3 separate regions of the Homo sapiens genome follow, and regions 1 and 3 are each linked to region 2. Evidence: promoter capture Hi-C in 16 types of primary human blood cells and fetal thymus (Javierre and others, 2016). All regions are on one chromosome and are shown on one strand. Each heading gives the region's core, a stretch centred on a gene start or on the middle of the fragment in contact. The rest is flanking DNA. Distances are from core to core; before and after follow the strand shown.

The links. Contacts are between HindIII fragments. The CHiCAGO score rates a contact against its expected background, and 5 or more counts as called.
Region 1: a contact is called between a fragment that was not itself captured here and the fragment with the promoter of NABP1 in region 2, in 1 of 17 cell types (fetal thymus). The highest score is 5.4, in fetal thymus.
Region 3: a contact is called between a fragment that was not itself captured here and the fragment with the promoter of NABP1 in region 2, in 2 of 17 cell types (naive CD8 T cells and non-activated CD4 T cells). The highest score is 11.0, in naive CD8 T cells.

What each region holds. Positions count from the first base shown.
Region 1 is chr2:197,504,035-197,507,527 of GRCh38, reverse strand. The region is part of intron 2 of HSPE1-MOB4 (HSPE1-MOB4 readthrough); the gene reads right to left. Among named protein-coding and RNA genes, the nearest start is that of HSPE1-MOB4, 5.4 kb to the right of the region's middle. The HindIII fragment of the contact is 1,868 bases long and covers 795-2,662 here.
Region 2 is chr2:191,676,462-191,679,795 of GRCh38, reverse strand. It overlaps NABP1 (nucleic acid binding protein 1), which reads right to left and starts at 1,660. Exons shown (of 6, transcript NM_001031716.5): 1 at 1,091-1,660; 2 at 668-806. The coding sequence starts at 1,181. RefSeq lists enhancers at 1-489, 1,317-1,819, 2,029-2,108 and silencers at 959-1,018, 1,619-1,968. The HindIII fragment of the contact is 1,958 bases long and covers 1,241-3,198 here.
Region 3 is chr2:196,796,276-196,799,648 of GRCh38, reverse strand. GTF3C3 (general transcription factor IIIC subunit 3) reads left to right here. Exons shown (of 18, transcript NM_012086.5): 1 at 1-139; 2 at 1,741-1,852. The coding sequence starts at 38. Among named protein-coding and RNA genes, the nearest start is that of GTF3C3, 1.7 kb to the left of the region's middle. The HindIII fragment of the contact is 3,187 bases long and covers 341-3,373 here.

The DNA.
Region 1 (3,493 bases), core at 479-2,978, 5.8 Mb before region 2:
CAGCCAGATAGACAGAATAGGGCTCTGTCTCAAAAAAAAGAAAAATATCCCAGCACTCCGGGAGGCCGAGGCGGCGGATCACGAGGTCAGGAGATCAAGACCATCCTGGCTAACATGGTGAAACCCGTCTCTACTAAAAATACAAAAAAATTAGCCGGGCGTGGTGGCAGGCGCCTGTAGTCCCAGCTACTCAGGAGGCTGAGGCAGGAGAATGGCATTAACCCGGGAGGCGGAGCTTGCAGTGAGCCGAGATCGTGCCACTGTGCTCCAGCCTGGGCAACAGAGTGAGACTCCGTCTCAAAAGAAAAAAAAAAAGAAAAAAAATTATTTCTTTAGCAATTCTGCTAGGCAGGCATCACAATAGGACTGCTTCTGTGGTTCAAAAATTCTCTTATCCTTCTGATTTAGTAGGTTTGGATGAGGCCCTGAAATTTTAAGTTTACCAGGCAATTGCAAAGATGAACCAAGCTTTGTGAACTATTACCTTAGATATCAAAACTAATTTGCTGGGTCTTAGGAAAATAGCATTGGAGAATAATGGGAAAGCCATAGCCTTTGAACAGATTCCTTACTCTACAATATATTAGCCACATGTCCTTGGAACGATTTCTTATCTCTTAAGTCAAGGTTTCTCATTGGTAATACAGAAAAATCTGTGCTCCCAAGATTATGATGAGCAAAGCATATTATCTAGCTGTGCGTGAGTAGAGTATGAAATTGATAATCCACTTAGACAATATAAGAAATAACTTTTAGGCATAATTCCAGTATCGAAGTTTGACAAAAAGTAAGCTTTAGTACACCAAAGGCAGTAACACGTGCATAAACGTAAATATACATATAGTGGAAGTACCTACTACTTTACAGATGGGAAGATGATCAAAAGTTGAGATCATTATTCCATGCCATTTAAAACTTTAAATTTTAATTCCTCTCAAAATAAATACGGGACACAACCTTTAAAAGACATTATCAGACTAGTTTATGGATAATTAAACCTAGAAAATAAGTTTGACTACTAAGACAGCTGGTAGCTGATAGTTGAGTTTAAGGGTTGGTAATCAATTCTAGCGTAGGATTCTTTTTTTTAAAGACAGGGTCTCATTCTGTCACCCAGATTGCAGTGTGGTGGCACAATCTCGGCTCACCAGAGCCTTAACCTCCCCACCTCAGCCCCTTGAGTAGCTTTTTGTATTTTTTGTAAAGACAGGGTTTCACCATATTGCCCAGGCTGTCTCGATCTCAAGAGATCTGCCCACCTCGGCCTCCCAAAGTGCTGGGATTACGAGCACAAGCCACCGCACCCAACCAAATTCTAGTGTAGTATTATTGGGTTTGAATCTTAAGTCTTCTCCCTAGCTGCTACAGCTATATCAAGCTATTTATCCTCTGCTTTGACTCAGTTTTGTTAAATTCAACACATGGTGTACTAGGAACTTAAGTGACATACATCATTTGGTACTACCCATTCCCCATACCACAGTGGGTATCACCAGGATTAATTGAAATAATGTGTATTAAGTGCTTAGAATTAACAAAGTAGCAAAGGCTATAAAGGATCAAGTTTTAAACAGTAACATCTGGAGATGGACTGTGTCTGAATCCTGGCTTTGCCACTTACCACTGAGCAACCTTGGTTATTACTTAACCCCTTCTATGCCTTAGCTTTCTCATCTGCAGGTTGAGAACAGTACCTATCTCATAGGGTTGTTGAAAGATTAAACCAATTAATACATGAAAAGCACCTTCAACAGTAACCAGCACCTAGAAAATGCTCCGGTTAGCTATCCTATCACACAGTGCTCACCCCAGAGAGAAGGCACTCAGCCAATGTTAGCTATCATATATATATATATATATATATATATATATATATACACACACACACACACACACACACACACACACACACACGTATATACATGTGTGTATATATCACATATATCATATATGTATATGTATCATATATATACTTTTTTTTTTTCAAAACAGTCTATGTCACCCAGGTTGGAGTGCAGTGGTGCAATCTTAGCTCACTACAACCTCCGCCTCCCAGGTTCAAGCCATTCTCCTGCCTCAGCCTTCCAAGTAGCTGCAATTACTTGCCTTAGATTTTTTTTTTAACCAAATTATGTAGCAGTGTTAAGTTTTTAAAAATGAAATGAGCCGGGCGCGGTGGCTCACGCCTGTAATCCCAGCACTTTGGAAGGCCAAGGCAGGTGGATCATGAGGTCAGAAGATCGAGACCATCCTAACATGGCGAAACCCCGTCTCTACTAAAAATACAAAAAATTAGCAGGGCATGGTGGCAGGCGCCTGTAGCCCAGCTACTTGGGAGGCTGAGGCACGAGAATTGCTTGAACCCGGGAAGCGGAGATTGCAGTGAGCCAAGATCATGCCACTGCACTCCAGCCTGGGCAACAGAGAAACTGTCTCAAAAAAAAAAAAAATGTTCACTCCAGAATTAAATTTTCCTAAAATAAAACAAGACATAAAAAAACACTTGGAGGATACCAGAGCAACTCCAGTATTGCTAAGTGGCCTTAGATACTTGGTCACTGGATGCTGGGCAGCTTCAGGTGAAGATGGTGGTCACTGAGGCTCAGGTAACCATGGAGAGCTTCTCAGCACTGTTCTTTCCAATGCAATACAAAACAAAGCTTAAAAGACGCAATGTATCTGGGAAGTTAATTGGGGTGAAACTATGGATTACAGCTGAGCCAAGGGAAAAATGTACCACAGCTGAGCGGGGTGACCCTGGTGCGCTCACTGCTTTGTCATTGCTGCTGGCCGCCAAGGACGATCACCCCTCAAGGACTATGTGATGCCTTTTTCACGTTGTCTTTCAGAAACTTGATAGGACATCATATGCCTGATATTAAATGCCAGTATCAGGTTAGAAACTACACTGAAGTCTTCCTGTTTCTCATCTCAACTACATTGAGGTCACACTGACTAGGTGAGCATGTGGCTGTTTTCCAACTCTGACAAACTAGTGTCAAATAGAAAAGCATAAATATAACCCATCACCATTAAAAAAAAAAAATAAGGTAATGTCCTAACTTTAATGTACAGAAGTTGATTTTCCGAAATATTGACCAACTCTTAAAGTTCTAAAAAATAAAAAAAGCTGCCAGGTATGGTGGCTCACTCAGGCCTGTGATCCCAGCAGTCTGGGAGGCCAAGGCAGGCATATTGCTTGAGCCCAGAAGGTTCAAGACCAGCCTGGACAACATGGCAAAACCCCATCTCTACAAAAGATACAAAAATTAGCAGGGCATGGTGGTGCATGCCTGTAATCCCAGTCACTCAAGGAGGCGGACGTGGGAGGATCACCTGTGCCTGGGAAGAAGGTGGAGGCTACAGTGAGCCATGACAGTGCCAGTGCACTCCAACCTGGGTGACAAAGTGAGACTGTCTCCACAAAAAAAAAAAAAGAAAAAAATGGAAAGTATAATTCTTCCCTCAATTTACATGGTACTTGTGTACCTGG
Region 2 (3,334 bases), core at 411-2,910:
GGGTGGGAAACAACTGAGTGGCAACTACACTAGAGAAAACAACTTATAAAAAAGAAAAAATATGGACTATACCAGTCTCCTAAAAAGACTCACTGACTCAGAATAGAACTAAAAATCTATGCCGGGCGTGGTGGCTCACGCCTGTAATCCCAGCACTTTGGGAGGTTGGGGCGCGCGGATCACTTGAGGTCAGGAGTTGGAGACCAGCCTGGGCAACACTCTGAAACCCCGTCTCTGCTAAAAATACAAAACTTAGCTGGGCGTGGTGGCACACGCCTGTAGTCCCAGCTACTTGGGAGGCTGAGGCACGAGAATCTCTTGAACCCGCGAGGCGGAGGCTGCAGTGAGGAGAGATCACGCCACTGCACTCCAGCTTGGCGACAGAGCGAGACTCGGTCCCAAAAAATAATAATAATTAAAAATCTACTTAACCTGTAAACCGGGGTAGAGGCGCGGATTTCCCAGCTGAAACCGACTGCCTTTCACTGCAAAGGTCTGTTACATCCCAGCGCTGCCCACCACCCAAAGTTAACACCAAAGGAGTTCAAAACTCCTCAAGAGTGGCCCACAGAAAAGGCGGGGGACTTCAGGGCTTGCCAAGATCCCAGGAGCCGGCCAATCCCGATTCTGCAGACTGTTAGGTCCCCCGACTTTTTTGCACACCTACCCTCTGGTCAACCGAATAATATCCCCTGGCTGTATAAGACCTCCGATCTCATCCCACACGGAAATAGTGATGCTGCCCGTTTTATCTGCTACTTTGCACGATCTCACTTCATGGCCGTCTTTGGTTTTGGTCACGCGTCCTGTGAGGATTTAAAAATCAAAGGGAGGGGTTGTTAGATAATGAGGACATCCAGAAAGGCTAACTCCTCCTCCGGTATTTTAATACATCTGGAAGGTGGGAAGTGACCAAGCCCAGGGCTCCCGCCTCAGGTAGGATCCGATCTCGGGCGGAGGCCACTAGAGCCACGTGGGTGGGGGAGGGGAGGGAGGAGGAGGGGAGCCCCGGGCGCGCAGCGGCCGGCGCCCCTGTCTCCCGCCCCGGGAGGCACAGCGGGCGGTGGAGTAGGCTGCAAACCCCACTTACCTATCTCCAGGACAATAAAGACGACATTTAAGTTTTTCAGTCCGGGCTTAATATCTCTTATAAAAATAAGTGGGTCGTTGACCCTATTCATATTGGGACAGGCGCGGCTACGGCTGCGGAGACGCGAGTGGGCAGGGCGGGGTCAAAGCTTCCCACCCTCCCGGGACAGGGGCGAAGGCAGAGGGGCGACCTTGGGCAGGGGTGGCGAGAGAAGGGGCAGAAAGCCGTTAGTCAGGGACCGGGCAAACCAGCCCGGACAGCACTGAGCCTAAAAAAAGAAAAAAAAAAAAAAAAAAAAAAAAGGCTCACAAGTTCTAAAGAAAAAAAGGCGAACCACTCCGCACACCAACCCCGCTCCCAACCGGGCGACAGGAAGGCAAGCGTACTAACTGCCCCGTTCTTTGGATAAAAGGAAAAAAAAACGCAGTGAGGGGACACTTCTGCCCTGAGTCCCGCTCACTCACACGGGCGCGCGCCCAGCCTGTCCCGGGCTCCGGGAAGGAACGGGCTGTGACAGCGAAACGGGAGCGGAGACAGAACACCGCACACCCAGCGTCCCAAACAGCGACTGATGAACACGCCCGCGCGCCGGCAGGACCCTCGGCCCGCCCCTCCCCTTGTGAAGTCACGCTGCGTCGGCACGCCTGCTGCCACGCCCGCCTGGTGCTGGGGAGGGGAAGCAAAGGGGCGGGACCCGGCCGCCGCAGCCCGCAGAGCTTCCCTCGCTCCTCCCCGGGGGCTGTCAGCGCGGGCTCCGCCCCCTCGTCCTTCCAATCGCTCTCGGCCCCGCCTCCCCCGCCCTCCCGTTCTCCACCCACTTCAGCTGTCGCCGCGCAGCAGCAGTTCTGTTCGGTTTCGCCTTCCTGCTGTGCAGTCTTTTGACGCTTGCTGTCCAACTTTGGAGTTTTCTTGCCTTTTTTTCTCTCAGAGTTGAGCCCCTGCCCGGGCCCTTTAGTCCCTCGGTCACGAGGAACGGTAGAGTTTAGAACCTGTGAGTACGTTAGAAAGTTCGCAGTCGAGGAAGAACAGGGTTCGGGCAAGGGCAGCTGGTCCGGTACCAAGGGAAAACAGGCTGGGATGGTGAAGGCGTCAGTGGCTACAAGGCTGGAAGTTTAGCACCAGAAGGGAATTTGGAGATCAATTCAACCGCCTCATTTCAGGCATACTTAAATTGAAACCCAGAAAGATGAGGTAATTTGCAGAAGGTCACCCAGCAACCCCTGAGCAGGCAGGACTGCAACACAAATGTCTGACGTGGGCTTCCACTGTGTAATGCTAAGCAGATAGGACGTAAATTCCTTTGCAGACTTCTCATTTTTCCTTACCCCCTGCCTCTCATATTACACACCTTCCCCATTTAGCTTTTCTTCTTTTACTTTGCACTTGCTTTTGTACATCTAAAAGGAATTAATTATTCAACAGCAGTGGGAACCCTTGAAACATAATCTGGAAAAAAAGATTAATAAAGTTTTTTTTATGTCGCGTAGTGAAAAGAGCATGTGCTTTAGAGACAAACCTGGGCTCCAGCTATTTACTTGTGAGAGCTTTAGGTCAATTGGCTTTTATTACAGCTTTTTAACCATAATAAAATGGGGATCCCTGCCTAGCAGAAGATTGATTAAATGGATCATAAATTGTCCAACTAGTGCCTAGCAAATAGTACATACTCAGTATTTTCCCCTTTTTAATCCCCGTTTTACAGGCGATGGAACTCACCAGAGACCAGATAGCTAGAGAATGGCTGAGCTGGGTTTTAAATCTAGTCAATCTTGACCCCAGAGCTCTCCAGCCTAAAGGTAATGTTTAGACTTAACTTCCAGTGGTGTCATTATAAGAGTCAAAAACAGACTGAAGAAATAAAATAGCAGAATAAAGTAGTGGGGCATTAAAGAATCATCTAGTTAATTCTTGGTGATGATAACAGAAATGTTGGGAAAAGTGTCAGAAGCCTTAATTTTCTCCCCATTCTTTCTGAGTATCTTTAGATCAACCACCACTTCCCAAGTATTTGCAAACAAGCAGCATAGATATTATAGCCCTAGAAAGAGTTGGAAACATTATCACAACATTAGCAAGAGAGTCAAGGCATTTTTAAGGAAACAGAAGCTTCCATTTCATGAACTAATAAAGCCCAAGGTGCCAAAGACACTGATGTCATACTGGAAAGTGGTGTAAAATAAAATTATAAGCATAATTTCAACATCAAATAAAACAAATGATGAAACATGCCAGTTAATGGCAGAG
Region 3 (3,373 bases), core at 685-3,184, 5.1 Mb before region 2:
CCCGGTTCCTGGGGTTGCACAGACAGACCCTGTAAACATGTCAGGGTTCAGTCCGGAACTCATCGACTACTTGGAAGGGAAAATCTCCTTTGAGGAGTTCGAACGGCGGAGAGAAGAGAGAAAAACCCGCGAGAAGAAAGTGAGGCGATGCTAGGCCACGGTGCCCTTCACTCTTGTTGCCTTCATACCCTTAGGTGTGGGGGACCCAGACGACCGCTTTCACTGTGATGGGGCGGGCTGGGAACTTTCAGCAGCTTCTTCCTTATCTTACAGAAACTCCGGTTTTCACCCCTCATCCCTGTGCTAAGCTCCTTAAAACGTTTTCCCCCACCGAAAAGCTTTCGTCTTGGTGGTAACCTCTTCTTTTTCCCCCAATACTACGTTTTTATTTCAGGGTAGCTTAACGCTGGTAAGTTAAATGGGAGGTGGGGAGAAGAGTTTGGAGTCAGTTTCAGGTTCTAGTCCTAGCTTTGCCACTAAGTCGTTTTGTGACGGTGGGTGGACAGCTCACTTCTCTTCTTTAGGCCCCAATGTCTCCTTTTCTGAACTGGAACGATTGAGCTCCTGTTTTTGAGGAGTCTCCCACTGGTGTGAAGTAATAGTCCATAAAAAAGTATTGTCCGATAAGAAGATAATCTTCACCCATACCTTTTTTTTCCCCATACTTAGAAATATCTGAACTTACTGTATCTTCTTGCTTACTTCAAGTGCAAGAGAAAATAAAAGTAATGCAACCTTTTTAAATTTTTAAGTTCGAAGGCAGATTCTTTTTTTTTTTTTTTTTTTGAGACGGAGTTTCGCTCTTGTTGCCCAGGCTGGAGTGCAGTGGCACGATCTCGGCTCACTGCAACCTCGGCCTTCTGGTTTCAAGCGATTCTCCTGCCTCAGCCTCCCGAGTAGCTGGGACTACAGGCGCCTGCCACCATGCCCGGCTAATTTTTGTATGTTTAGTAGAGACGGGGTTTCACCATGTTGGCCAGGATGGTCTCAAACTCCTGACCTCGTGATCCGCCTGCCTCGGCTTCCCAAAGTACTGGGATTACTTTGCCCGGCCGGCAGATTCTTTAATAATTCATGCGAGTAGTAGGGACTTATCTTTTTATTTATTTTATTTTATTTTATTTTCAGACAGAGTCTGGCTCTGTCACCCATGCTGGAGTGCAGTGACGCGATCTCAGCTCACTGTAACTTCCGCCTCCCGGACTCAAGCAGTCCTCCTACCTCAGCCTCCAAGTAGCTGAGACCACAGGTGTGAGCCATCACACTCTGCTAATTTTTGTATTTTTTGTAGAGACAGGGTTTCTTCATGTTGCCCAGGCCGGTCTCAAACTCCTGAGCTCAAGGGATCCGCCTGTCTCGGCCTCCCAAAGTGGTTGGATTACAGATGTGAGCCACCAAGTCATTTTTTATTTAAAATATTAGGATACAATATGTTCATTAATGAAATTATTAAGATATTTTATTTATTTTTTTTTACAAATGACAGATTGAAGGGTAAGATATAAGTACTTTGAAATGCTTTGACAGTATTCAAATTTAGATTCCATCTACTGTGTATGTGTTCACAGCTCAAGTTTTGTAGGAATAGAAAATTAGGCAAATGCCCTATTCTATAAACTGCCAACCCATGGTCACAAAATGCCCGAGTGGCAAAGCTAGGACTAGAACCAGATACTCTGTGGCTGGGGAGAGCTAAGTCTGCATTATTTTTTGGAATCATTAATTAATTTGCAATCACAGAGTCTTCAGGAAAAAGGCAAGTTATCAGCTGAAGAAAATCCCGATGACTCTGAAGTTCCATCATCATCAGGAATTAACTCTACCAAATCCCAAGACAAAGATGTCAATGAAGGTATGTTAAAATTATGTGCTTCCTGCAATGAATGTTTAGAGTATGTAAGCAAAGTAATTTAGTGAAACATTGTATTTTCATGGCAGTGATACTCTGTTGTTGATTACCTGGTTTTTCAGGAACAGAATGCTTGGTTATATAGTAGGTGCCCAATAAATATTTGTTGAGTTATTGAATACCCTGATGGTTATTTTTTGTGAGCTCTGGTGTTGGAAAAGTGTTTTAAATTGACATCAGTATTTGTTTGGGAGCTTTTTAAGATTATTTTTTAAATTGGCCCTCTCAGTTGGTAACTAATCACTTCCAGACTATACTTCCTCAAATTGTAATGAATTACACTTCGATATAAAGTGGCTTCCAAACCACTGCTTTAGTTACAGGGAGAAAAGATAGAAATGTTAGCGTGGAAGGCAAGTTGGTTGCCCTCATGGAACTTCACACACAGCACAGGTGTCTTGGTAGGCTACCTCATTCTAGCATCCAGTCCTCAGCTTTGCATGTCCAGATATTAAATTTGGTTAGTGCACCCAGACTATTTAAACTCATCGTAGCCTAATTAATTAGTAAGCAAATTTATTAATGTTCAGTGATTGATACCCTTTTCCAGGGATCAGAATGCTGATAATATCTCAGGGTATCCATTTACTACCATATCAAGTTAACTGGGATGCTAAACTGTCAGTTAGAATGTAGCTTCATGTATAGGGTCTGATAACAACTGTCTAGTTCTAGGGGTTAGAAGTACAGTCTGGTTCTTTTCCCTCAAAACAAGTAAGTGTTTACACAGAGAACAGACAGTCATAGCATGGGCAGAAAACAAACAAGATTTGTTCCTACCTCCCTGGACCAAGTGAGGAAAAAAGGGCAAAGAGGAGGGAAAACTGGGGGTTACAGTTTCTTATTCTGCCAGGAAAGTGGGGTGGAAAAGGCAGCTGATAAAAAGGAATGAGATCATGTCCTTTGCAGGGACATGGATGGAGTTGGAAGCCGTTATCCTCAGCAAACCAACACAGGAACAGAAGACCAAACACCGCATGTTCTCACTTATAAGTGGGAGCTGAATGATGAGAACACAGGGACAAAAGGGGGTGAGGAAACAACAGACACTGGGGCCTTTTGGATTAGGGGTGTTGCGGGAGGGAGAGCATCAGGAAGAACAGCTGATAGATGCTGGGCTTAATATCTAGGTGATGGGATGATCTGTGCAGCAAACCACCATGGTACATGTTGACCTATGTAACAAACCTGGACATCCTGCACATGTACTCCTGAACTTAAAAGATGAAGAAAAAAAGGCAGCTGACTGAAGTTGTTCTCACAATTTGTGTGTCCTTCCTTATCTGCTGAAGGGAGGAGCTGCTCTTTTTTCCTCAGGTGTTTAAGTTGCTACTATAGCAGCAGGCACAAGTGGGTGCCTGTCAGTCCTGTTACCTAAAGCTGCTCCCAAAAGCTAGCCATCAGGCCCTAAAAAAGGAGTGAGCTGAGTCCAATTCAGGCTCATGATGAGCAGTCAGGCCCACA